Linked DNA regions of Homo sapiens: regions 1, 3 and 4 are each linked to region 2. Evidence: promoter capture Hi-C in 16 types of primary human blood cells and fetal thymus (Javierre and others, 2016). All regions are on one chromosome and are shown on one strand. Each heading gives the region's core, a stretch centred on a gene start or on the middle of the fragment in contact. The rest is flanking DNA. Distances are from core to core; before and after follow the strand shown.

Region 1 (6,751 bases), core at 3,465-5,964, 1.0 Mb after region 2:
ATCCCAGCACTTTGGGAGGCCGAGGTGGGTGGATCACCTGTGGTCAGGAGATCGAGACCAGCCCGACCAACATGGCAAAACCACATCTCTACTAAAAAAATACAAAATTAGCCAGGCATGGTGGTGCATGCCTATAATCCCAGCTACTTGAGAGGCTGAGGCAGGAGAACCACACCACTTGAACCCAGGAGGTGGAGGTTGCAGTGAGCTGAGTTCATGCCACTGCACTCCAGCCCAGGCAACAAGAGCAGAACTCCATCTCAAAAAAAAAAGGCGGGGGGGCGGGGGTAGATTCCTAGCTCTTTCCCGAGTCTACTTCAAAAGAACTCGGGTAAAGCCTGGGCATGCATAATTAACGAGTACTCCAGGGGATTCTGAGCAGGTGGTCTGGAGACTACACTTTTTTGGAACACTCTTCTGCAAAGCTTTCATCCTTTATCAAGGGAGTCACCTAGGCTCACCAACTTCTTCCAGCAGGATTCTTTCTCCCTTGTCTTCTATAGTACACTCACTGTGAAAGCAGGGTAGGTTTTGCTGCTGTTGTTTATTCAGGGAAAAGGGGATGAGGAAGAAACAATATTAAAAGGAGAAAGGAAAAGTGGACATTTTGAAGAGCTCCCTCCATTATTTATGTTGCAATTAAAGTATGAAATCTTAACCTTCTTTTTAAAGGTGTGGCCTTTAGGACTATAAGCACTCAATTCTCCACTAAATAAATGCCTTTCTCCACTGAAACCCAAAGCTCCCTTAAGGGTTTCAAAACCTACCATTTAGCCCCAAATGTGGGCAATAATTGGCTGAAAAGTTCACAGATCTTTCAAACCAATAGTCCTTACCTTGCTGTTTCTCCTTTCATTTTTTAGCACTCATTAAAAAACAAAAATAGGGCTGGGCCCGGTGGCTCACGCCCATAATCCCAGCACTTTGGAAGGCCGAAGTGGGTGGATCACGGCGTCAAAAGTTCAAGACCAGCCTGGCCAAGATGGTGAAACCTTGTCTCTACTAAAAATACAAAAATTAGCTAGGCACGGTGGCAGGCGCCTGTAATCCCAGCTACTCGGGAGGCTGAGGCAGGAGAATCACTTGAACCCGAGGGGCAGAGGTTGCAGTGAGCCAAGATCGCGCCACTGAACTCCAGCCTGGGCAACAGAGTGAGACTCCTTCTCAAAAAAAAAAAAAAAAAAAAAGCTGGGTGCGGTGGGTCACACTTGTAATCCCAGCGCTTTGGACTACAAGGTCAGGAGTTCGAGACCAGCCTGACCAACATGGTGAAACCCCATCTCTACTAAAAATACAAAAATTAGCAGGGTGTGGTGGCGTGTGCCTGTAATCCCAGCTACTCGGGAGGCTGAGGCAGGAAAATCGCTTGAACCTGGGAGGTAGAGGTTGCGGTAAGCCAAGATCATGCCACTGCACTCCAGCCTGAGCAACAGAGCGAGACTTTGTCTCAAAAAAAAAAAAAAAAAAAAAAGACACAAAGTAGAATAAGTTTACTTAAGAAATATGCTAAATGATTTCTTTTAAGTGTTCTTGATGGTATGCTTTTCATTCATGGCACTATACCTCACTAAATGTCGTGACCTGCAGTCCCAGCACTTTAGGAGGCCGAGGCCGGATGATCGCTTGAGCCCAGGAGTTCAAGACCAGCCTGGACAACATAATGAGACCTCCATCTCTAAAGAAAAAAAAGTTTTCAATTAAAAAAAAAGAAAAAACATCAGAACATCAGACCAAATCAATTAAGTGAGTTCCAAAGCTTATAAAAAGAGTGACTCTTTTTACTCCCATTGCCATTAAAACCAGGAGTATCAGTAGAATTACATAAAGATCAAATTACTATATAACTTTGTAAATGTAAACTTATGGCACAGGTGAAAATAATAGAATAATCAGACAGGAAGAAATATACATATATATATATATATATATATATATATATATATATATGTATATTTCTTTTTTTTTTTTTTTGAGACAGGGTCTCACTGTCACCTAGGCCAGGGTGCAGTGGCGCAATCTCAGCTCATTGCAACCTCCACCTCCAGGTTCAAGTTGATTCCCCAGCCTCAGCCTCAGTCCCAGAGTAGCTGGGACCAGAGGCATGTGCCACCAAGCCCTGGCTAATTTTTTTATTTCTAGTAGAGACGGGGTTTCACCGTGTTGCCCAGGCTGATCTGGAACTCCTGAGCTCAAAGCAATCCGCCTGCCTCGGCCTCCCAAGGTGCTGGGATTACAAGTGTGAGCCACCGCACCCGGCCAGGAAGGAATATTAATATAATAGACCGTTATCTCTTTTTACCTGCAAACTAAAGGTCTGAGTAACACAATATATTTTAACTAAAGCTAAAAGCCTCTGTATTTCCATTAATTTTCCATTAATTTGCTGTTTGAAGTCTAGATCCATTCCCTATAACCATTTGTCAAAAATAAATAAAATACTTTTAAAAGAAAAGGTAATAAATAAAAATTCAAATTATTAGTATTTTTCCTAAGGCTGCAACACATCTAAATATATTTTTACATTTAACGCAGGCGTTAGGTTTACTTCTAAGAAGGCAATGTTTTCATTTCTTAAAAATTACAGAGATATAAATGGATAAGGACAAAAATCACATGGATCGTGGTGATGGGACTACGGGAAGTTTTCTAACCTGGTAATCTACCACAGGTGAGATAGAACATCACCCAGGTGTCCTGTTCCCTTAAACATGCACCCAGCCGTGGATCATCTGAGGTCAGGAGTTTGAGACCAGCCTGGCCAGCATGGTGAAGCTGGGTGTAGTGGCGGGCACCTGTAATCTCAGCTACTCGGGAGGCTGAGGCAGGAGAATTGCTTGAACCCAGGAGGTGGAGGTTGCAGTGATACAAGATCACGCCACTGCACTCCAGTGCACTCTGGGTGACAGAGCAAGACTGTTTTTTTTTTTTAAATACATAAATAAAACATACATACACCCAGCCTCCAAGCATTTTTCTAACACTGTAGGCTATAAATCCCTCAGTGGCTATAACTCCTCAGTAGCATAGGTCTAAGGAAGGATTTCTACTGCGTTTGCTACCAGCCAAAGGGAAGACTTCTTCCTTTCCCTTCACCCAACTATTAACTCTGGGCTAAAAAGACACACCTGAAGGAAAACGAAGTCACCCCAAGAGCTTCCTGGTTGCTCTCCTCCAGACCCTGGGGTTTCCGGGTCCCCTACCCCTGAGAGAATTAAGAGGAAGATTACAGGGCCACCTTGATGACAAAGATAAGCATTTCCTGATCCCCTTTTCTCAGGACTTCCCTAAACAACTAACATTTAGCAGATTACATTGCTGCTAAAAAATGTTATTTACAACTGGGAGGGAAAGAGGAAGGGGAAATAGGAGAAAAAGGACATTTTTAAAAAGCTATTTTAAAAGATAAAAAGCGTTAGAAATTTCAAGTTTCCCGAGATGTGAAATTTGTCCAACGTCTCATCAACTTCGATTAACACATGCGCTAGCCCACGAGCGTTTTTCGTCATTTCCCAGCGCTGCGTCCCGTTTGGAGGGTCACATCCACGCTGGCTTTAAAAGGCAGGCTGTGACCACGCTGAGCTCAACGAGCTCATCCCCCGTTTAAAAAGATACGTTACTCTCTCCTACCTTCAAGGTTGGACCATGGCCGCCTATCTTTCTCTGTTTCACAAACACAACGGGCAGATCGGTTTCCGCGGCCAATTCCGAGAGCGTTCCTTCCAGGGCCCGACCGTCCTCTGTGTGGCACAAAAGCAGAGCGGAGCGTGTAAGGTGCTTCTCCCCCGCTAACAGGCGGGAACTGCGCCGGGGGCGGGGCTTCCGTCCCGGCCCCGCAGGCACCGCGTGCCCTCTGTTGACTCCCTTGCAAGTTAGCATGACTTGCTGCATTTCTGACAAAGGCTAGAACTCACAATCAAGCTTGGAGTCTGACCCCGGCAAATCCGCACACTGGCTGAAAACATGGCCTCAAGGCTAGCTGTAAACGTCAGAGTTCTAGTCAGGGTTAAATCATTGCACTACTCCGCTAAAATTAAACGTCCTACTTTCCCGGTAAATCCCGAATTCAGAAAAGCTTCAAAAAAGAAGCTTAATACACGTTTATCTCAACTTTCACAAAACACCTCCCAGTTTGATCTTGCTTTCAACTCTGCATCTATACTGAATGCCAAAATCCAACTTCCAACGTTTCCTTGACATTTGAAACCGTGGAGCAAAATTAAGAACACTCTGCCTACCTGGTGCATTCTTAAAAAGAATCCTGAAGCAATACACAACGCTACAGATGAAACTAGGCACTAATGGTAAAATTTCACAAAGGGGTGAACTCAGTGGAACATACAGATTCCACAGTTACACTGACATGAGGCCTATTCATTAGACATAAATCACGCCAACATTCAAAAGTATAGCTGCTTATTTGGGAGGCCGAGGCGGGTGGATCATGAGGTCAGGAGTTCAAGACCAGCCTGGCCAAGATGGTGAAACCCTGTCTCTACTAAAAATACAAAAATTAGTCGGGCGCGGTGGCAGGTGCCTGTAATCCCAGCTACTCAGGAGGCTGAGGCAGGAGAATCGCTTGAACCCAGGGGGCGAAGGTTGCAGTGAGCCCAGATCGTGCCACTGCACTCCAGCCTGGGCGACAGAATGAGACTCCGTCTCAAAAAACAAACAAACAAAAAAAACCAACAAAAAACAAAAAACAAAGTATAGCTGCTTAATTGTAATAATAGTAGCTAACATGTCTATACTGCTTCACATATATTTACATTTCAACTTCACAACCACTCTACAAGTAAGTATTACCAGGCCCAACTTACAGACAGGGAAACAGGTACAGAAAAGCTAAGAAACTTGTCCAAGCTCAAGGAGCTACTCAAAAGCAGCGGCAGGATTCAAACCCAGGCAATGTGGTCGACGCGTTTAATCACTGTCCTGTACTGCCTGAGAGAGTGAGGAAGCCCTGGGGTCGTCGTCGCCGCCCCATTTAATAGTCTGTGTCCAGCTGGGCACGCCACTTGATCTTTCTGAGCCTTGCTTTCCCTACTTGTAAAAACATGGAGACCCCATGTGTTTTGCCAACGTCTCAGGATTTCTGAGGATTAAATGGTGTGAAAATTCCTAGAGAAGCATTCTTACATAGTTATACTTTCTTAATATTCTCAAGGATCTGTCAGTCCACTCAACACATTGTCATCTACATTTCAAGACTCGGACTCTGTAAGAAACGATACAATACCCATTTTCTCCGCTGTTCTGCAAACTGTCTCTACAAAGACCAAGAGGAAGGAAACCGCCAGCCTACAGGCGCCGGCCTCACCTACCACATGACATGCTGAAGCTTTGTGTGACCGGGTCGAAACCGCACACGCCACGAAGCTGCCTGGGTTTGGAAAAGCCTCCCCGTCTGCTCAGACACGCCTTAAAATATCTTCCCTTCCCCGAGACGCACACTGCTGCACCCAGGCGCAATGCTGTCGTCCCCGCCGGCAGGCCGTCCCCCGCGTGCTCCCATCCCTGGGCTCGCGGCTTTGTCTGGTTTCACCCGACGCAGAGCTTACAAGAATTTGAGAATGATGAAGACATCAGGCCCTCCTTCAGGACTCGACCACCTTTCGCTCTGCTGCAAATGCCGGAGTGAAGAAAACTGAGGTGAAAGGGTTGCTGTTTCCTAATGGCTACGAGAAGCCACGCCCTGCGCCGAGCGGGCGGGCTAACTGCCAGAGTCAGAATGACAAAGCAGAAATCCACTCCTCGTGCAGCCCTGGCAACCTATGCTAATTGCCTCGTAAGCTGAGAGCTCCTAATTGGGTGACACCACATCCTCTGCCTGCTCATAGCCGCCCCCAACCTAAGAACAGAGCAAAAACAATTTAAGGCAATTCTGGAACCAAATTTGGAATAAGTGTGTTTTTACTGAAGAAATTAGACTATGCCCTAAGGCAGTAGCTACAGAACTTTGCTAGCTGTTGTCATCACGTGAGGGTCTTTAGAATCCTGGTGCCTGGCTCCCACCCCTAGACATTCTGATGTCATTGGTGTGGAGTGTGACCTGGGCCTCTGCGTTTAAAAAAAAAAAAAAAACTCCAAAGGTGATTGAGTTGGCAGCAAAGTTTGGGACCCACTGCCTTAAGGTCATGGATTAGTCAGTTTGGCAGTTCCCTAAAGGAAGTTATTAGGCTTTTGAAAAGAAATGTCTAGTTCATCCTGACTAATCCTGAAAAGAAATGACAAATTCTTAGGAACACACCTAACTTCCCCTGAGAGCACCTCTTCCTTATTAGATTCTAAGTTTGGTATTTATTGTTTTTTTTAAGAAAAACTCAGAGTGTCTTTTAACTCCAGCTGCACCCAGCCACCTGCAGCTACTAAGGTGAGCCATGCTCTCTCATGCTTCCCTGCTCTTACTCATGTTCTTATTCAGCACTGTGCACTAGCAGGCTATGAATATTTGCTGAATAAATACATAATAACTGAATGAAGGAAGGAAGGAAGGAATGTCTTTCCCACTTCTTTGGATAATGCCAGATTGAAGCACTCTCAGCTGAGAGCGTTGCGGGCTCCTAACAGCCAGCAGAAGCCACACTCCCTCTAAACAAACAGGCAACCACTGCCAGGTCCTGCCAGGCCCTTCCAAGGTGAAACTCAGAGGCTTGATTTAGCTTCTTCACCCTCTAAATGGGCACACACACACACTACACACACTAACTTGACACTTCCCCTGTAAGGTGATTATTGACATGAGTGTTTGATT
Region 2 (6,866 bases), core at 2,663-5,162:
CAGACCATGCAGAAAAAATATGCTGCATCCTTTATATAGTTGCAGGTTGGGAAAAATCAAATTCCTACCTTGAGAGAGTGATGATATCAAAATGTGAAAGTGGAGAGCTTTTGTGTACTCAAAATGCCTCTCACATTTCCATCTAGACCCCCAGCTCAACTCCTCCAGGAGGACTTCTCTGATTTAACTGTGTCATTCAATATCTCCTGGAAACTTGAAGGTCCAGATTATATTCTATTATCCACTGCTTTGCAGTGATTCTCAATTGCTTAATCTTCCTACCTAGACTATCAATTTCTCAAGAGCAACAAAGTTTGACTTCATTCTACAAACATCCATTGCTGGCTGCCCCCAGCGTTGCCCTAGAAGTTCCCAGCAGAGGAGGTCCCACATAGGGGTGGACGATGTGTAAGCTTACAGTTATTAATAGAAACATACTCCAGGGGCAAGTCTACCCAGAATTATCAAGGGGCTGATCCATCTCACTACTCCTTATGGCCACTTGACCCTTTTACTCCATACCAGTTTCTCCATGCATCAGGCATACGGAATCCACTTAACTCAAGTACACTACTGCATATCAATCTGTCATGTTAACCAAGTCCACCAGACAAAAGCCAAGAGAGGCAGCCATCCTGCTATCTCAGGGAAAGGGGAAACAATTATCCAGTTTACCTGAGTAACTCAAAAAGTAAAACAGGGCTCAGAATGGAGATTTCAGATTTAGGGGTATTGTAATAATATGTTAATGCATCAAAAAATATTTGCCATGTTCTTATAGAAAAATATTCAAGGAAAACCACTTTGCCTTCAAAATGGTGATAATAATATTATTATATAGTAATAATTACAGTTTACAGTGTGCTTTCATGTTATTTTTGAGTTTCACATGAGCCTTATGAAACAAGATACACCGAATTATTCCCATTATATAAACAAAGAAACCAAAATTCAAAAAAGTAAAATGAAACACCCACAATAATGCAAACAGCACAGCACCAAACCTAAGCTTAAGCTCACTGTCCAGACTCTTAAGTTCAGCACCCTTTCTACAATCTCTTTGTACATTTTTTTTTTCTGAAAAGTTTGTATGGCTACTGAATTCTATGACTCCTGGGACATATTGGAAGTAGTGCACTGTAAGTAACTAGAAGAGAAAGACAATATCTCTTTAACGCGTTTCGTATTGCTCGGGTTCAGTCCTCCTAGTGTGCAGCTTGGTCAACAGTGCAATTGACGCTGATGCCCAAGCTCACAGCTGAGATTTTCAGTACCTTTGCATTGTGGTTTATTTTTCTTTACATCTCTCATCCTGATGTATTTCCTCTCTGAACCTAAATTCCTAACACCAACTGACAGAACATTTCAAAATAACAATGACCAAATCCCAAAGTCAGCCAGGTGGACTCACAGGCAGGCAAATGTTTGGGAATGGCTTCTCCAAGACAAGGGCATATCCATCAAAGAGGTGATGCAATAACTCCCTGCTCATCATGTTGTCTCCTGCATGTTTTGAATCTGCACTCAATATCCTTCTCTCCTCTGAACAAAAAGTAATTTTTGGCAAACAGCAAGCTGGAGGAGAGAATAGCATGCTCTCACATGCACTGTCCACAAACAAAAGTGAGGCTGCTCCTCAAACTACTCTTTCGGTAGCTTTTTTTTTTTTTTTCAATATGACTTCCCTTTAGGTGATAAGAGAGATGCTCCTAGGGAAAAAGTCAATCAAATATTCATAAAGATAATCATATTTCCCCAAGAAATCATATTTTCCCCCCAAATTTGATTTTTACATTAACATTTTAGAGCTAGCTCATCATACCTTACCATCTTTCTATTTTCTTTTCTTTTCTTTTTTTTTTTTTTTAGATGGAGCGGAGTTCCACTCTTGTTGCCCAGGTTGGAGTGCAATGGTGCGATCTCAGCTCACTGCAACCTCCGCCTCCCAGGTTCAAGCAATTCTCGTGCCTCAGCCTCCCAAATAGCTGGGATTACAAGCAGGCGCCACCACGCCCAGCTAATTTTGTATTTTTAGTAGAGACTGGGTTTCACCATGTTGGTTACACTGGTCTCGAGTTCCTGAGCTCAGATGATCCACCCACCCCAGCCTCCCAAAGTGCTGGGATTACACAGGCATGAGTCACTGCGCCTGGTCCATCATTCTGATTTTCATTTGGCAATGGTACCCCCTCCCCATCCCTAAAACTGACAAGCAGTTCATTAATAAATCAAAATGTACATGCATGAAACTAGCCTCATTTTAAGGGAAATCTGCTACAAATCCTTCCTACAATTTTTTTTAATGTGGATAACTTTTCTTCACCTTTTTTAAGTAGGCTACACATGCAGTGGATTGCATACGGCCACAGTACCTAGTAGACTGAGACACAATTTGAGTGCGGGGTGTGGCCCTGACATTGTTTCATACAAGCAGAGCTTTCTGGCCACAGGCAGGTTTGAAGCCCGTCTGCCCTCATTAGCATAAGGTGCTACACTAACCTTCCCCACTGTTAAATGAATCTAAAAAGTTCGCTCTCCTGTGGCTCTCTGCATTGTCACCAGGACAGGATTTAATTCAAGACTCAAATTGAGTCTTAAACTCCATTTTTTACCGGCGTCTGGGTTAAGGGATGTGACAGGCCCAAGGTTACAAAGTCATTGCCAGGGCCTCCACAGCCGCCTAGGAAATACCGCAGCCTCTGACTGCTGTTTGCATTTGCTGGTTAGGCTAGGATGTGGCATCTGGTTGACTTCAATTGGAGGAGATAGGAGCTCTTTATCCAAAAGGACACTGAAATAGGTCAGCAGTTATTACTCAAAACAGATCCAGGGTACCTTAAATCCCGAGACATAGGCAGGGTGAAATAGAAGGGTGAGTTTTGGCAAAAGTCACTTGACACAAAGCCTGGCTGGCCCGGGGAAGCTAGAAGACCTTGCCTGCCAATCAACATGAAGTGGTATAAAAAGAAGTTTCTATTTGTGTGTGTGTGTGTGTGTGTGTGTGTGTGTGTTTAATGAAAAGTATCTTAACAGACTGTTAATAATAAAGCTCTGTCTCACATATGTAAAACATCCTTACTGCTGCAGCTTCTCAGAGAAATCCTAAGAGCAGCCCAGCCGGTCTTCGGCATCAAGGCAGACACAGATGCGTTTTTGCAGCTCTGCTTCTAGTTCTCCCCAACCCCACTCCCACCCTTCCCCGCTTCCTGCCCCACCACCACTGCCCGAAAAGTCCTGTCTTGCTCTGCTGCACTTTTCCAGGTGCAGCGCCTTGGTTCCGAGGAGATGGGGGAGAGGCCTGGAGGAGCAAGTGTGGGAGGTGGGGGAGCGGCCGGGGACCACGTCCGGGAATCCTCTCCCCCAGGAGAGCCCTGAGACCCGCCAGCTGCAGGTGAGCCCCGGCGGCTGCAGGGGAGCCCGCGACAGTCCTCCCCGCGCTCCCTCGGCAGAGACGCCCCGCAGGCTCGACTGCTCCAGGCGCAACCGCCCCCGCGCGGGGGACTTGCCACGCTTTCGGTCTTTCCAGAAACGGGCGGTCTGCTCCTGTCCCGAAAATGGGGACGGGGAGAGGGGGCTGCGCGCCCCCCACCCAAGATCCCTGCACCCTTCCTTCCCGCCGCCTCTCCCGCCCGCCCCCGCCGGCCCCCGCCTCCCGCCGGACTCACCTTGGCCCGCGCCCGCGCTGGTGGCGGTGGAGTTCCCGCAGCCCATCGCGCAGCCGGCCGGGGAAGCCGCGCTCCGGAGCTCTCGGCCGCGGGTCCTGGGGGCGGAGACCCAGACGAAGGGCGGCGCACCCCGAGCGGGAGGCTGACGGGGCCGCGAGGGGCCAGGAACCGAGTGGGGGCCGCCCCCTCCCACCGCCGGGAGACGCGGCCCGGGGCGCAGCGGGCTGCGGGCTGCCGGGCGGAAACCACCCGGCACCCCTCGCCCCGGCCCCGCCCCGCCCGGGGACCCGCCGGACCCACCCGTCGCCCCAGCAACCTCGGCACTGGCCAATCCCCAGCCTCCTGCGCGCTTCGCGGTCGGCCATTGGTCGTTATTACGAGGGGCGGGAGTTTAAAGTGGGCCCCGGGGCGAGGGAGCGGCAAGGGGCGTGGCCGGCGCAGCGGGGTGGGGGTGCCCACCTGCCCACCCTCAGCATCCTCCTCGCCTTGTCTTTGCTTTTCTTTCCTCACTTCCCCTCCCTGCCCCAGGATGTGGGGAGGAGAGGAAGTAGCAGGGGGCACCCTGCACAGTGGACGCCCAATAAATGCTATTGACTGAATGTTGTGCAGGTCTGAAGCCAAAACCGAAATCCCCAGCTGCTTTAACAGAAGGCCAACGCAGCTCTGTTCCCCATACGCACTGCCTGGCAAAAGTTCTTCCCCAGATTGGTCATCTTGACCTATTCCTCTTTAAAACAAATGTCTGCAACGATTTCAATAACTTGGATTCAGGACCTCCTCTCTGATAAATGAGAGAACTGTGGATGGGCACGGTGCTGTACGTTTCAACATGATAGTTGGGCCAGCGTTACTGCAGTCAGACTGTCTGAGTTAAAGTCTTCGTTCTGCCCCGTGATAGCTGCGTGACCTCAGGAAAGTAACTTAACCCATTGGGTACATCCCTTGTTTCACCTATAAAATGACAGTAACTCAGGTACATATAAAGTACCTAACAAAGTTCCCTATCTTTAGTAAATATCAGCTATTATCATTATTATTATTAACTCTAATAGAAATGAATACAAATTCCTTAAAGGGAAAGACTATCTGATTTTTCATAGCGTCCTCCTGGCTTGTAATACAGACTCACTAAATGTTTTGTGAGGTGACTTCAAGCCAGGAATTAAAGCTCCATTTTAAATTCACTTAATATTTGTAGGGAGCCTAGCCTGTGCCAAGTCCTTTGTTAAGTTCCGGGGATACAAATATGTGGGAGACAGTCTAACCAGGCAGATAGATTAAAATAAATTAATTACAATATAGAAGGAATGTTAACAGAGGAATACAGGTGCCATAGAGTCCCAGAGGATGCTGGGATGCTAGTTAAAAGACTTGCCTAAGGCCAGGCATGGTAGCTTACACCTGTAAACTAGCACTTTGGGAGGCTGACACGGGCGGATCACGAGGTCAGGAGTTCGAGACCAGCCTAACATGGTGAAACCCTGTCTCTACTAAAAATACAAAGATTAATTGGGTGTGGTGGCATACACCTGTAATCCCAGCTACTTAAGAGGCTGAGGCAAGAGAATCACTTGAACCTGAGAGGTGGAGGTTGCAGTGGGCCGAGATAGCACCACTGCACTCAAGCCTGGGTGACAAAGCGAGATTCTGTCTCAAAAAAACAAAACAAAACAAAAAAAAAACAGACTTCCCTGAAACCATACTGTTGTGTTTACATAAAAATAAAAATATGAACCAGAATCAAGGACTTGGCAGGTTTTTGAACATGGCCTTTGAGGCAATGGTGCGTTCTATCATTCAGGATGCAAAATATACAGCATTCTCCATTTGAAAATTAGCTGTGGTAGCCATGTGCTGAGAGGATAATTAATTCTTGGATAAATAAAGGCATTTTTTAGTTGACTTCTAGAAGTACTGCTTCTCTACCAGCCTGTGCTGTCTTGGTTCAGTGTCCATCCTAATACATAGCCAGAACTGGGGAAAAGGGAACTATCAAGTAGCCGAAAGATATTCTCCTGCTTATTTCTGTGCTGACACTAGACTCCAGCCTTAGGACACTTGTAAGAGACAGAAAATGGACCTTGACACCTAGAAACTGGCCTAGAAGCTGTGACACTCAACAGCTGGGCCTTTGCATTCTCCTGTTAAACACAGTTGCATAGAACACCAATATCACACAAGGCCACTCTATAAACTATGAAATGAGACAAAAAACAAGGTGACTCGGTAATCTTGTCTAAGTGCTGACAAAAACAAGGTCATTGTGCAAACCCCCAAAACACCAAACATCTCCCCATCCTGCCTGATAGGATTGTCTGCTGCTGCTTTACCAGTTATGGTTTTAGCCCTGTTCTTGTCTTCCTGCCTAGAGATGAGGTTCATTAAGAATCTCTAATCATAGAATTGTCCCTGCTTCCTGACAATATCCAATGTAGAAAAAAAAAAAAGTTCTGCTTCCTTAAATCCCAACCAAAATCACCTATTATGAACCTAAATCCTGTAGGTTCTTTTCTAACACTCACTTACTGAGATATCTCATGGTTCCTCGTAGTGTGCATTCTGCCCTATAATGTTATAGATTATGTGATCTATCCATTATTTCAACAAGCACTATTGAGTATCACCTTAAGAGCTCCAGCCATGAGGACTTACCTGTTGGGTACAATGTACACTATTTGGGTGATGGTTACACTAAAAGCCCAGACTTCACCACCACCCAATACATCCGTGTAACAAAAATGCACTTGTACCCCCAATCTGTTTTTAAAGTGCCAGCCACTCTTCTAAATGTTTGAGAGACAGCAGTGAACAAGAGAGAGAGGAAAAATCAAGTGGGAGGAGATACATCAAAGCAAATACAATCAGATAATTTTAGATACAAGTGCGATGGGAAAAAATAAGTCACTGGAATAGGAGACTAGGAGTAGAGGGAGAGGTGCTATTCTAGATATAAGGTTGGTGCAAAAGTAATCACAGTTTTTGCTATTACTTTTAATGGCAAAAACTGCGATTACTTTTGCACTAACCTAATAGAATGGTCACAGAAGGCCCTCTGAAGAAAGGATATTTTTGTGAGGTGTGGTTGATGTAAAGAAATCAGACATTGGCCGGGTGCGGTGGCTCACACCTGTAATCCCAGCACTTTCAGAGGCCGAGGAGGGCAGATCACAAGGTCAGGAAATCGAGACCATCCTGGCTAAC
Region 3 (6,996 bases), core at 4,132-6,631, 1.3 Mb after region 2:
GAGAAAACATGGACAGAGGGAAGGGAACATCACACACCAGGGCATATCGGGGGTTGCAGGGCAAGGGGAGGGAGAGCATTAGGACAAATACCTAATGCATGCGGGGCTTAAAACCTAGATGATGGGTTGATAGGTGCAGCAAACCACCATGGCACATGTATACCTATGTAACAAACCTGCACATTCTGCACATGCACTCCAGAACTTAAAGTAAAATAAAAATAAAAAAATAAAAAAAGAGAAAGTCTAAAAAAAAGAAAGAAAAAAATATACTACCATTTGCCACAGCATGGATGGAGCAGCAGGACATTATGGTAAGCGAAATAAGACAGACACAAAGAACAATATTGCATGATCTCATATGTGAAATCTTTTTTTTTTTTTTTAACAAAAAAGGTAAAACATATAGAAATAGAGAATAAAACAGTGGTTACCAGGGTCAGAGTGACAGGAAGGGAAGGAAATGGGGAAATGTAGGTCAAAAGATACAAAGTAGCAAATACCTAGGATAAACAAATTGAGAGATCTAATGTACAACATGAGGACTACAGTTAATAATAATGCATTGTATTCAGGATTTTTGTTTGTTTGTTTGTTTGTTTTTTTAAGATAAGGTCTAACTCTGTCACCCAGGCTGGAGTGCAGCAGCACGATCTCGGCTCACTGCAACCTCCACCTCCCAGGCTCAAGAAATCCTCTCACCTCAGCCTCTGAGTAGCTGTGACCACAGGCGCGTGCCACCATGCCCAGCTAATTTTTTGTATTTTTGGTAGAGATGGGGTTTTGCCATGTTGCCCAGGCTGATCTTGAACTGCTGGGCTCAAGCGATCCACCCACCTCGGCTTCCCAAAGTGCTGGGATTATAGGCATGAGCCACAACGCCTGGTGGTGACTACAGCTGCTCATGCCCCAGGCAGAAAAAAATGGGTAACTATATGAAATGACGGATATATTACCACTATAGTAACCATTTTAATATATATACAAAATATCTATCTTATACCATCATGTTATATACCTTAAATTTACACAAATAAAATTTATTAAAAAAAAAAACTACATGGAACAGTATAGTTCCCCAAAGGAAAGAGGAATTCTTTGCAGACAAAACCAACATTAGCTATAATAGGGGTCAACAATGTAGATAGCCCCATTATTTACAATCTGTGCCAGCAAACTACACCCTGTGGACCAAACCTGCCTATGAGCTGCTTCATAAAGGCTTATTGGAACTCAACATACAAACAAACAAACAAAACATGATGTGAAAAGAAAAGAGGTAGTGAATTAATTCTGTTTGGGAAAAAGGAGGAAATAATTGATTGTAAAAGTATATGCTAGCGTGAACTACTCTAATAGCTTCCTGTATAAAACATGGAAATGATAGCTTTCATTTTATAGTCAGAGTTTTGTCGCCAAATTCCCAGAGAAATCTAATTTTAAAATAACCATCTGTTACTTTTCATTATCATTTATGAGGCAGCTAAAATGCATTATGGCTCAATATATACAAATATATTGATACAAGCAGTTACATTAATATTAATTTAATAAGATGATTTCTCATTAGAAAGACACAGTTTTTTTGTTTTTAGCTCCAATGCTTTCTGAAGAAAAGACACAGTTTTGAAAACAAGTATGCTCCAGGTACTAAGGAAAACACAAACACACACAAATCTGTCCACTGTTAGGTTGAAATGCAAAAAGCTAAGCATCATCCCTTTTAAAAATTAAAGATGGAAAAAATAAAATGTTCCTACTCTAAATCATAAAATAAGCATTTGGTCTGAAAGAGTCAGCATACCTGGGAACATTATTGTTTGAATCTTCGCTTTCGTTTGCCAGGCCACCAAACAAATAGCATTTGTTACCATATAAAGAGAAGCTATGTCCAAGCCGAGGACAAGGAGGTAAACCAGAAGGAGGGGGATGGGGTTTCACTTTTTTCCATAACCAACGACTTGCCTAAAAAAAAAAAGGGCACAAATACAGTCAGACAAAATCAAGAAAGCACTCCTATATTGTCAATAGTGCAACATCATATCAATACATTTTAATCTAAATCCCATCAGAAGGCACTAAAAAACTACTTTTGGGACAAATGACAAATAACCAGCTAACTTCTGGAATTAAAATATATGTTCCAGTAGACATTCAAGTTACTCTTCCATATTCACAGATTTCCATGGCAAACTCAGCATATAATAATAAACACTAACTGTTCTAAAGTAGTTTCCAAATGAAAAATAAAGTATTATACATAGCTTCAAGATTAAATGTAATTTATATATTCTTACTTTCTGAAAAAAGGTAATCCATGAATGGTAAATATTTTAACCTTTTAAAGGTAAACATAAAGCTCATTTAACATATCAAATTCCAAAACTTATTCTCTGGCCATGGATGTTTTCTTTAGCTAAAATTATTTTTGCAATGAGTTGCTTGTAAATAGGTATAACCACTCACATCTGCCAATTAGCAGATACCCGCATGATCACCGCCCTAGGGATAAGGCACAGATCAGGAAGAAAAGTCAACAAGGGCTATGAGTCTGGTTTAATAAGACTCAAATTTAGAAAGGTTATGGGAAACTGTTACTCCTCTTTTGTATGTATTGTCAAGGTGGGGGGTGTAGTAAATATTAGTATGAGGGTAACAATTTCTAAAACACTAAAGCAGTGGTTTTCAAAGTATAGCCTAGGGGCCAGGCATGGTGATTTTCCAAATGTGGAAAGTTTTATTCAAAGTTGTGAATATGTCAGTTGATACCAATGCCAACTATCCCTCTGTGAGTCCTGCAGTACTTAATACTTAAGAATTTGCGGCACAGCACGGTGGCTCACGTCGGCTAATCCCAGCACTTTGGGAGGCCCAGGTGGGTGGATCACCTGAGGTCAGGAGTTCAAGACCAGCCTGGCCAACATGGTGAAAACCCGTCTCTACTAAAAATACAAAAATTAGCTGGGCATGGTGGCGCGTGCCTGTAGTCACAGCTACTCAGGAGGCTGAGGCAGGAGAATTGCTTGAACCCAGGAGACGGAGGTTGCAGTGAGCCGAGATTGCGCGGCTGCAGTCCAGCCTGGGTGACAGAGCAAGACTCTGTCTCTAAACAAACAAACCAGGAGCATCAGCAGCTGGGAACCTGGTAGAAATGCAAATGCTCATGGCCTTCCTCTGACTCAGAAACTCTCTGGGTAGGACCCAGCAATCTGTGTTTTCACAGGTTCTCCAGGCGCTCCTGTTGCAGGCTAAAGTTTCTACTGCATTAAGATACAAAAACCTAAATATATAACATGTACAACTGATGCTACGTAACAGATATCTTGATGTTATAAATGTTGCACTGGGTATGGGAAAAAGACTTGCCAGGAAACTTTGGGTTTTAAGTGAAGTGGAAACATTTTCTATAAAGCTATAAAATGTGAAGTTTACATTACTTGAATAATATTACTTGAATAATAGTTTACTTGAATAATACATTACTTGAATAATATTAAAATGTGTTAAACAATGTTAGTAATGTTGCAATCTTTTGAAAAATTATGAACAATATCATTATTAAAGCCTCAGAATGAAACAATATTAAATACACTTACTTGTAACTCATATAACTCATTGCTGTATCTTCCATATTCAACCATTCCCCCAAATACTAATATTCTGGTACCATCACAGACAAATCCATGGGCAGCACAGCCTGGAGGGATATCTCCTCTAACAGCTGGCAGAAACCACTGATTCGTAGCTAGTTGCCAAAATAAAATGAAAACCGATTATAACAAACAACGGTTATCATATACTATCAGCAAATATATATCATCAATATCAGTGGGTCTCAACTGGGGATGATTCTGCCCCCCAGAAGACATTTGGTAATGTCTGGTGACATTTTTAGTTGTCACAACTGGAGGGGGCTGTTACTGGCATCTAGTAGGTAGAGGCAGGGATGCTGCCAAACATCTTACAATGTACAGGGCAATACAGGGCAGCTTCCCCCAACCTCAACAAAGAATTACCTGGCCCAAAAGGTCGAGAGTGCTGCTGTTGAAAAACCCTGATCTGTATCATTTAATTCTTACAAAACGCCCTGCTGGGTGAGTATAAAAATCTCTATTTTACAACTGAAAATTGTGAGGCTTAAAAAGGTTTGGTAACTTTAGCGCTGATCCTGGGCAACCGGCAGAGCAAGATTCAAATCAGGTCTAATTTGTTCCAAAGCCAGGGATTTTACACTAAGACCAAAGTGTCAGTAACTTTTTACCTTCATATGCTGGGGCGCTGGGAGGAGGAGAGGGTGAAAAAAATAAAACTTCTCAGACTCCACTATTTTGTTAACCTTCAAATTATTCCTGTGATTAAGTTGTTTGATCAAAGAAAAGTTATCGGTCATGAAGTAGACCCAAAATTCCATCACTGTCTTTACACCAAACAGATTTCTTGTGACAGCCTGAGCATTTACAAGGGGAAAAAAAAATTAAATCCAGTTTCCTTTCTATTCCACAGAGGTCCTCAAAGATAGGGGCTCCCTGCCCAGGGGCACTTGTGATCTGCAGTGGTGCTCAAGTTATGACAGTCCTCTTTCCGAGGGCCAGTCCAGAAGGGCGTCCACACCGAGTATGCAGACACAAGGCCGCCTCACCACGTCCCCGCCGCTTTAGAGCGCGGCTCACGGAGGGGCTCTTGACCGTTACCTGCCAAACACCGGGTTGTATTTGAGGCGAGAGTGCCAGAAGGCCTCTCGTTTTCCCTCCTCACCCCCTAGATGGTCTTCCTCCTAAGGAAGGAAGGCAGGCAAAGACGGGAAAGGCCCTAAGGAACTTTGGTTTGGAGTGGGTTTTGTTTTTTGACAGAGGCGAGATTTCGGGGAGTGGCCCAGGCGGTTGGACATGGTCTTCTGTCGCCTGCGTCCGCCTGTCGGGCTGGGGTGGGGGCGTCCGGGATCCCCCGCCTGAAGGCCGGTGCGCCCCGCTCGGGGTCCGTTGCGCCCCAAGGGCCCCGGAGATCCTGAGCTGCGGTCCGGGACAGAGCTGCCGGACCCGGGCTGCCCGGCTGAGCCGCGCTCCCCGCCGCCCGCCCAAGGAAGCAGTGACCGGGCGGTGACAGCTGTCAGGGCCGCGGCCGCCGCCTCGCCTCCCCTCCCCCTCCGCAGCTCCAGCAGGCGGGGCCGACGAGCCGCCGCCGCGCCTACCCGTGTTGTAGACGTGCAGCTCATCCGCGATGCCCTCATTTCCCCCTCCAAAGATGATCATCAGCTCCCGGATGGCCACCGCTCGGTGTCCGTGCCGGGCGCGGGGGACCGGCCCCGTGAAGGAAGAAACTCGCCTCCAGTTGAGGAGGCTGGGAGCCGCCATCTTCCCAACCCCCGCCCCTCTGCCCACAATGCACCGCTCCCGCCTCAACCGGCTGCTCCCTGGGGAGGGCGGGGACCCGCCTCCAGCTGTGCTGGGGTCACGTGGCCGCGGGCGCCGGCGGCCAGGCTGGAGGCCCGCGGGCAGTGGAGAGACGCTGGGGAAGGGGGGTCCTGACAGGGGAGCCCCGCCCCCACCCCAGGCGACTTGGCCAGCGGCCACCCGGAGCAACGCACCTTAGGGTGGAAGGACGCTTCCCACTGACCACGTCTCCCATCCCCACCCAGAGCCTCCCGTTCGGTATTTTGGGAAGAAGCCACAGCATCTTCCTTTACGTCCACTTTAATTGAGCATCTAGGATGTGTGGGCGAGGCAGTCTCACAAGCAACGTGAGAGAAGCTCGGGTAGAGGTTCGAAGAGCTGGGAGCGCAGGGCGGGGACCTCGCACGGGAGGGTGCGGGCGGGAGCCTGCCTCGCGAGCCCGGGCCACGGCGGCTGCTCCCGACCGTGACTGGGACCCGGGCAGGGAAGGTCGCTACAAAGCCTGCCGGGCGAACCGAAGGCAGCTTTGTGCGGAGCCATGCCAGGAAGCTTGGGAACCGTGAGCCACAAGAGGTATTTTTGGTTTGTTTGGCTTAAGCAGAGGAGAGATGGTTTTCTAGGTTTCTGTTTCATTGCTAGCTAACAAGTGAGGGCTGTCCACAGCCTGGCATGCCCTAAGTGCCTCATGTGTATTAACTCATGTAATCCATCCAGCAATCCAGTGTGGTGGCTCCTGTTATCTCCCTTTCATGGACGGGGAAATGAGGCACAGTGCAGTAAGGTAATTTTCTGATGGACACAAAGGAGAGGTGTTGAAAAAAAAGACTGGGGCCAGGATTCCAACACAGGGCTTCTGATTCCAGAACCCCCAAGCCCTTATATCATATACCATACTGCCTCTGATAGCAGTCATATCCAACCATTATACCATACTGCCTCTGGTAGCAGTCATACGCAACTCTTTATTTTTATTTATTTATTTTAGATAGGGTCTGGCTCTGTTGCCGGAATGCAGTGGCGCGATCAGAGCTCACTGCAAGCTCGAGCTCCTGGGCTCCAGTGATCCTCCTGCCTTGGCCTCCCAAAGTGCTGGAACTACAGGCATGAGCCACCGCACCCAGCCAATGCAACACTTAATAAGGCCTAGCTGCCCTGTGATTTGGTCCTACACATAATCACACAAGTCCATTAGGAATAAAACTGCACTGCATATGGGATTCATGCCAAATGAGTAGATTTTAGCCACTCTTGCCACAGAGACACAAAAAGGGTTGGTGGTAACTATATGAGATGATGGATATGTTAATATGCTTCACTATAGTAACCTTGTGACTGCCTGTTTCAGCTGTCCCCAACCTTTTTGGCACTAGGGACCGGTTTCATGGAAGACAATTTTTCCACGGACTTGGCAGGGGAGTGGGTGGTATGGACTTGGCAAGGGGATGGGGGCTATGGTTTTGGCATGAAACTGTTCCACCTCAGATCATCAGGCATAAGATTCTCATAGGGAGTACACAATTTAGATCCCTCCTATGGGCAGTTCACAGTAGGGTTCGAGCTCCTATGAGAATCTAATGCGCGGTTGATCTGACAGGAGGCAGAGCTC
Region 4 (6,859 bases), core at 2,859-5,358, 1.1 Mb after region 2:
GCAAAGAGAAGGAAGGATATTTTAGGTAAAAGAGAACAACCATTCATGAACAGATGAGTGAGGGAGTCTGGCAAGGTCAGGGAACAGGGGAAAAAAAACTTGTGCCACAAGCTTAAAAGGAGACCTAAACTTGTCACACGTCCTTCATCCTTAAAGAAATTTCATCAGGAGTTACAGCTTTGACTAATCCAGTGCGAATGGTTATGCATCAGTGCCTATGCAAAAAGAAACAATCTCACATATATTTCCTTTGCAATCTGCCCTCTCCCCTTCCCACACTACTCTGCCCACACCCAGGGCCAGAGTAACTAAATTGCTTTTGTTGTTGTTTTAATAAACACCATTAGCACTCCTTAGCAAGTCTGCACCAGCCACTGGTCCCCAAAGCTGGCTGCCAGATGCAGCAGTTCATGCTCCCTCCTCACCAGTCCCCACCTTCAGCTGCCTCTCAGTGAGTGATTCAAGAGCTTTTACCACTTTTTCCCAGTGCTTGATCAAGGGTCACCTCCCGGTTTAGCTTTCCTTTTATTCTGCTTCAACTGGACACACCCTCCCTTCCCACAGGTAAGGATTTTTACCAGTCCAGCACATCTAGAAAGATCCCATGGAATCCCGTGAAAGGAATGGTACAGCGAAACCATGCTCCTTGGTCTCCCAACAATGGTAGTCCAGTGTTACATTTCTAACAAACTTGACTTGGGAGTGGGGAGCTGTTTGCTAAGTTCTATTCCTTCTATTCCCCTTCTTCCTTGATCTCACTCTATACATAAAAGAGTGAAATCTAGCTCTTGCTCCAAGAGGTAAGATTACTTCTCTAAACCTAAAACGAATTTGATGACCAAGAGCCTTGTGCCCACTTCTAAACAAATCTTTGTGATAAAGCACTTAATGAAACATTGACCCTATATAGAGTGCAGCAAGCCTTCGATTTGCTCACAGTTGTTTTAAACATTTTTAAAAGTTTAAATGCACATACTTGAGAAAAGCTGCTGCACATACTTGAAAAAGTAGAATTTTGGCAGCACATTTGAGGGGATTAAGCAGCTTAAAATGCCACTATATAAGTGAGCAATAATCTCAAGGCAGCCATAGCTACACTGTAATATCCACAATCTTAAGAAAAATGTCCAAACTTGGAAGTAAAGAAAGAAGTTGACTAAATGTCCTTTCAATGTCATACTGGACCATGTTTAACAAGCCCACCCAAGGATCATTTAATTTTCTTAAGAGAGTGTATCTGTACTTGACTTTGCTGTTTACTATTTTATTACAGCCTAGACACTGAAGTTTCATGTTAACTCGTACATTTCTGCTCAATAATCCCAAAAGTTAGTTTTGTTTGTTTGTTTGTTTTTTGAGACAGAGTCTCACTATTTCACCCAGGCTGGAGTGCAGCAGTGCAATCTCGGCTCACTGCAACCTCCGCCTCTCAGGTTCAAGTGATTCTCCTGCCTCAGCTTCCTGAGTAGCTGGGATTACATGCGCATGCCACCACCTGGCTAATTTTTGTACTTTTAGTACAGATGAGGTTTCACCATGTTCGCCAGACTGGTCTCGAACTCCTGACCTCAAGTGATCTGCCTGCCTCAGTCTCCCAAAGTGCTGGGATTACAGGCATGAGCCACTGCATCTGGCCCAAAAGTTAGTTTTATTGCTCTGTGAGACATTAACCAGCTTTGTAACTACTGTACTAGCAAATTCAATTCATCATTTCTTTGATTATATGTCCCTAGTCCTTGAATTTGCCTTTAAATTAGCTTTACCATTTTATTGGTTCTTTCATTTATTGGTTTAATTAATGACTAAGTTTTGATACCTGTTTTTTTTTCTGTACAAGATCATATTTTTAACGTTTCGAAAACCATACTTTGACAGCGGTCATTTACACTGTTCACTCAGACACTTCTCTGCACTGTGTTACTATCTAAGAAAAACTGTTTTCTGTCCCAGCCACTTCTATACATTCAAAAGACACCATCTTTTTCTCATTTTTTAAATGTGTGCCAGCTTGACATTATTCTACACATTCACAGACCATATTTACCTGCAATCACATCTTGTTTGACCCTCAGTATTTTGCTTAATTGCATTACTGCTGACATTCACAAGCTGGGGAAGTCACAAAAATGATAAATAGAGATTTCTAGTTTCTCTTGAAAAAAAGCAGGTCTGGCCACACTACACTCATTTTCCCACCCAAAGAAAGGGAAGCTCAGTAGAAATTGCCCTGTCTGTACAGCATTCTCTCCTCAGTCCACCCCAGTCTCCACCACTCCCTGCTGTTTACTACCTGCCTGGGTCACTCATTTATATGACCTGCCTGTCCCTGCAGATTTTTAATTTTCAACCCATTAATTGTGGCCTCTTAATTCTTCCCATAACAAGTTATTTCTGGGTCTATACAACTTCCCACCACCTGCCCAGCTCAGTTTTTCATCTAACAGACACTGTCATCTGAAGTTTCTGTATACACCTTCCATAAACACACTAAATTGTGGCAAAAATAACTTTTCTATATTTGTCAAAGTTGGGAGCGTACTTGAATGTTGAAAGCTGAAAACCACTGCACTACCACTAAAACCAACAGGTGGCCGGGAGCGGTGGCTCATGCCTATAATCTCAGCACTTTGGGAGGCTGAGGTGGGCAGATCACCTGAGGTCAGGAGTTGGAGACCAACCTGACCAACATGGAGAAACCCTTGTCTTTACAAAAAATACAAAATTAGTCGGGCGTTGTGGTGCATGCCTGTAATCCCAGCTACTTGGGAGGCTGAGGCAGGAGAATCGCTTGAACCCAGGAGATGGAGTTTGCAGTGAGCCAAGATCATGCCAATGCACTCCAGCCTGGGCAACAAGAGTGAAACTCCGTCTCAAAATAAAATAAAATAAAATAAAAATCCAAACAAACGAAAAACCCAACAGGTAGATTTGTTGCTGTTTTTCTGAGACAGGGTCTCCCTCTGTTACCCAGGCTGGAGTGCAGTAGCCTGATCATGGCTCACTGCAGCCTCGACCTCCCACGCTCATGCGATCCTCCCACCTTAACCTCCTGAGCAGGTGTGACTAACAGGCGCACGCCACCATGCCCAGCTATTTGTTTTTGCAGAGACTGAGGCTCACTTTGTTGCCCAGGCTGGTCTTGAACTCCTGGTGTCAAGCAATCCTCCCAGCTGGGCCTCCCAAAGTGCCAGGAATACAGGCATGAGCCACCACAACCAGCCAGATAGTTTGTTTTTAACATCAAAGAGTGATTTGTGATAGTCATTTATAGTTATATACATGTAGACTAGTTTCTACCAGCAAAGTAATGCTCAGAGCTAGAAAGTAGGATATAAGGAATATTCATGAAATATTCCCTGATGTTTTATGAAGGTAAAGAAAAGGCATTAACAGATTAATTCCTTCTTTTGAGTTCTTTCAAGGATTTAATCCAACTGTAAATCTAAAATACCGCCTCCCCCCCACCGTTTTTTTTTTTTTGGAGACGGAGTTTCGTTCTCATCACCCAGGCTGGAGTGCAATGGCACGACCTCAGCTCACTGCAACCTCTGCCTCCTGGATTAAAGCAATTCTCCTGCCTCAGCCTCCTGAGTAGCTGGGATTACAGGTGTGTGCTACCACGCCCAGCTAATTTTGTATTTTTTTAGTAGAGATGGGGTTTCACCATGTTGGCCAGACTGGTCTCGAACTCCTGACCTCAGATGATCCACCCGCCTTGGCCTCCCAAAGTGCTGGGATTACAGGCATGATCTACCGCACCTGGCCTAAAATACACTTTTTAAAAAAGCTAATTTAAAAGCTTTAAATACTCAGTACACATTAATACAAAGAGTAAACATTCAAATGTGAAAATCCAAATAATGAGTAATGACTTTAAATTACCTGGTTAAAATCAACAAAAAGCAAGATTACTCTACAATTATCTAGCGCATCGTGTAATACTAACTTCTGATTGCAGATTGCATGACTGCATGTCAGTCACGATCTTTGGTTCCATTCCAAAGCTTTCAATTTCCTCTTGGGGCATCTGACTCACCCTTATCAGCCTCAGTGATCTGCAGTAGCAACCTCCACCCCAGCCTCAGCCCCATTGCTAAGGATAGGCACCTCTGCCCAGAAATAGGTGATTTGACGCTGGCCTAAACACCTCACTGCAGTGTTCTCAGGCCTTGGTTCAAATAGAATCACTTGAGACACCAAAAATGAAGCTTCCTTCACTCTGAGGCTGATTTAGTAGGTCTGAAATGGAGAACAGGAAAATGAGTTTTTAATCTACACATTCCCAGCATGTAATTAATTCTCTTGCAGGTGGTCTTAGGACCGCACTTTGAAAAAATACTGTCTCCTCTCCTTACTAGAAGAAGCTGGTCAATGTTAATAGCATTGGCTTTTGGAACATTCCTCACTTATTAAAAAAAAAAAAATTGCCTTTTGCCATATGAGTCATATAAACACATTTACTGATTTGTAGGGCAGTATGCCAAGGACTGTAGGAGATAAGATAGTGAACAAAACACATTCCTGATCCTCAAAAATCCAGCAGGAAAAATGTTTGCAAGCTCATTAAAATAGAATGGAATGTGTGTTACAGAAGAAATACTAAATGCTAAGTGCCAAGATGTTAACTCCCTCTGCCATTCTCCTGAAGTGGTGTGTACCCATCTACTTTTATGATTACACATCATGACACTGCATTTTCTACGCCATTCTTCTCCACGAGACTCTATGTTCAAGGACTGAGATCATGCCTTGTTTATCCCTGAGTTCCCAGTGCCTGATAAATAATAGATGCTCGGTTGAAGAGTCATTCAAGCAAAACCTTCTGCATCATTAAGAAATTAGTTTCTTGAAACTTAACCACATAATTTTAATTTGAGAAGGAACTTAGAGATCATATGGTACTTAAGGAAGGTGGCTTCTAGAGTGTTTGTAGGTGACACACAAAAGAACATTTTTAATGTCAATAGTTATGTATAATATGGGCCTGGTGCAGTATACTTTGGGAGGCTGAGGCAGGAGGATCACTTGAGGCCAGGTGTTCGAGATCAGATGGGGCTGTTGCTTAGTGAGACCTATCTCTACAAAAAATTTAAAATTGAGGCTAGGCATGGTGGTGTGTCCCTGTAATCCTAGCTACTCAGGAAGCTGAGGCAGGAGGATTACTTGAGCCCAGCAGTTCAGTTTCAGTGAGCTATGATTCATGCCACTGCACTCTAATCTAGGCAACAGAGTGAGACCCATCTCTAGAAAAATAATAATCATCATTATGTATATATGTATGTGTATAGAAAAATATCTAGGCTGGGTACAGTGGCTCACACCTGTAATCCCAGCACTCTGGGAGGCCAAGGTGGGAAGATCACTTGAGCCCAGAAGTTTGAGACCAGCCTGGGCAACATGGCAAGACCTCATCTCTACAAAATGTAAAAAAATTAGCTGGGCTTGGTGGCACACTTTACCACACAGGAGGCTGAGGTGGGAGGATTGTTTAAGACCAGGCGGTTGAGGCTGCAATGAGCTATGATTGGGCCACTGCACTCCAGCCTGGGCAACAGAGCAAGACCCTATTTCAAAAAAAAAAAGAAAGAAAAGAAAAAGAAAAATACCTAGTATAAAGCCGTGCTTTAATAGATTAATGCTTAAAATATGCCTAAATTTAAGTTTCAAAAAGTAAATGTAAATAGGTGAAATTCTTCTATGCTGTTAGAAATCAGAGTAGTGTTTGCCCTTGGTATGGGGGTAAGAGACATTAGAGGGGCTCCTGGGGTACTGGAAACGTTTATTTCCTCAGCTGAGTGTGGGCTGCATGCATATACTTCGTTTGTAAAAATTTAGCAAGTTGTATTATAACGAGTGAGCTTTTCTGTATTATAAAATAGTTCAGGCCGGGCGTGGTGGCTCAAGCCTGTAATCCCAGCACTTTGGGAGGCTGAGGCGGGAAGATCACGAGGTCAAGAGTTCAAGACCAGCCTGGCCAACATGGTGAAACCCCGTCACTACTAAAAATACAAAGATTAGCTGGGCATGGTGGCGGGCCTGTAATCCCAGCTATTTGGGAGACTGAGGGAGGAGAATTGCTTGAACCCAGGAGGCGGAGATTGTGGTGAGCCAAGATCATGCCACGGCACTCCAGCCTGGCGATAGAGCAAGACTCCATCTCGGGAAAAAAAAAATGTGGTGTGTGTGTGTATATATATTCCATTTTGTGTGTGTGTGTGTGTATATATGTGTGTGTGTATGTACATATACACACACACAATGGAATATTATTCAGCCTTAAAAAGTAAGGAAATCCTGTCGCATGCTACAATACAGATGAAACTCGAAGACAAGTATGCTAAGTGAAACAAGCCAGTCACAAAAAGACAGACACTGTATGATACCAACTTATATAAGCAATCTAAAGTAGCCAAATTTCACAGAAACAGAAAGTAGAATGATGGATACCAGGGGCTGGGGGAAACGGCAAATGAAAAGTTAACGAGTTGGCATGGAGTTTCAGATTTGCAAGATGAAAAAGTTCAGGGGATCTGCTTCACAACAATGTGAATATACTTAATACTGCTGAAAACTGTATACTTAAAAACGGTTAGGGTCAGCTGGGTGCAGTGGCTCATGCCTGTAATCCCAGCACTTTGGGGAGCTGAGGTGGGCAGATCACCTGAGGTCAGGAGTTCAAGACCAGCCTGACCAACATGGTGAAAACCTGTCTCTATTAAAAATACAAAATTAGCCAGGCGTGGTGGTGCATGCCTGTAATCCCAGCTACTTGGGAGGCTGAGGCAGGAGAATCGCTTCAACCTGGGAGGTGGAGGCTGAGGTGAGCCAAGATGGCGCCATTGCACCCCAGCCTGGGCAA

What was found. Contacts are between HindIII fragments. The CHiCAGO score rates a contact against its expected background, and 5 or more counts as called.
Region 1: a contact is called between a fragment that was not itself captured here and the fragment with the promoter of C12orf75 in region 2, in 1 of 17 cell types (total B cells). The highest score is 5.5, in total B cells.
Region 3: a contact is called between the fragment with the promoter of HCFC2 here and the fragment with the promoter of C12orf75 in region 2, in 11 of 17 cell types (fetal thymus, non-activated CD4 T cells, total B cells and 8 more). The highest score is 18.9, in fetal thymus.
Region 4: a fragment that was not itself captured here is called in contact with the fragment with the promoter of C12orf75 in region 2 in 1 of 17 cell types (total B cells); the score reaches 5.5 in total B cells.

The regions. Positions count from the first base shown.
Region 1 is chr12:104,285,917-104,292,667 of GRCh38, reverse strand. It overlaps TXNRD1 (thioredoxin reductase 1), which reads right to left. Exons shown (of 17, transcript NM_001093771.3): 4 at 3,628-3,737. Among named protein-coding and RNA genes, the nearest start is that of TXNRD1-AS1, 8.4 kb to the right of the region's middle. RefSeq lists a silencer at 3,760-3,889 and enhancers at 3,756-4,301, 4,302-4,849, 5,187-5,256, 4,850-5,395, 5,367-5,746 and 3 more. The HindIII fragment of the contact is 1,252 bases long and covers 4,089-5,340 here.
Region 2 is chr12:105,327,737-105,334,602 of GRCh38, reverse strand. It overlaps C12orf75 (chromosome 12 open reading frame 75), which reads right to left and starts at 3,912. Exons shown (of 6, transcript NM_001145199.2): 1 at 3,666-3,912. The coding sequence starts at 3,711. RefSeq lists an enhancer at 2,287-2,830 and silencers at 3,487-3,586, 3,617-4,276. The HindIII fragment of the contact is 8,522 bases long and covers 1,012-6,866 here.
Region 3 is chr12:104,062,916-104,069,911 of GRCh38, reverse strand. HCFC2 (host cell factor C2) reads right to left here and starts at 5,381. Exons shown (of 15, transcript NM_013320.3): 1 at 5,189-5,381; 2 at 3,597-3,745; 3 at 1,805-1,965. The coding sequence starts at 5,351. It also overlaps a transcript of GLT8D2 not described here. RefSeq lists silencers at 5,005-5,144, 5,365-5,534, 5,516-5,685, 5,695-5,854. The HindIII fragment of the contact is 6,452 bases long and covers 1-5,941 here.
Region 4 is chr12:104,217,348-104,224,206 of GRCh38, reverse strand. All of the region lies in intron 1 of TXNRD1 (thioredoxin reductase 1), which reads right to left. Among named protein-coding and RNA genes, the nearest start is that of TXNRD1, 5.0 kb to the right of the region's middle. RefSeq lists a cis regulatory region at 4,684-4,694 and an enhancer at 4,617-4,761. The HindIII fragment of the contact is 204 bases long and covers 4,007-4,210 here.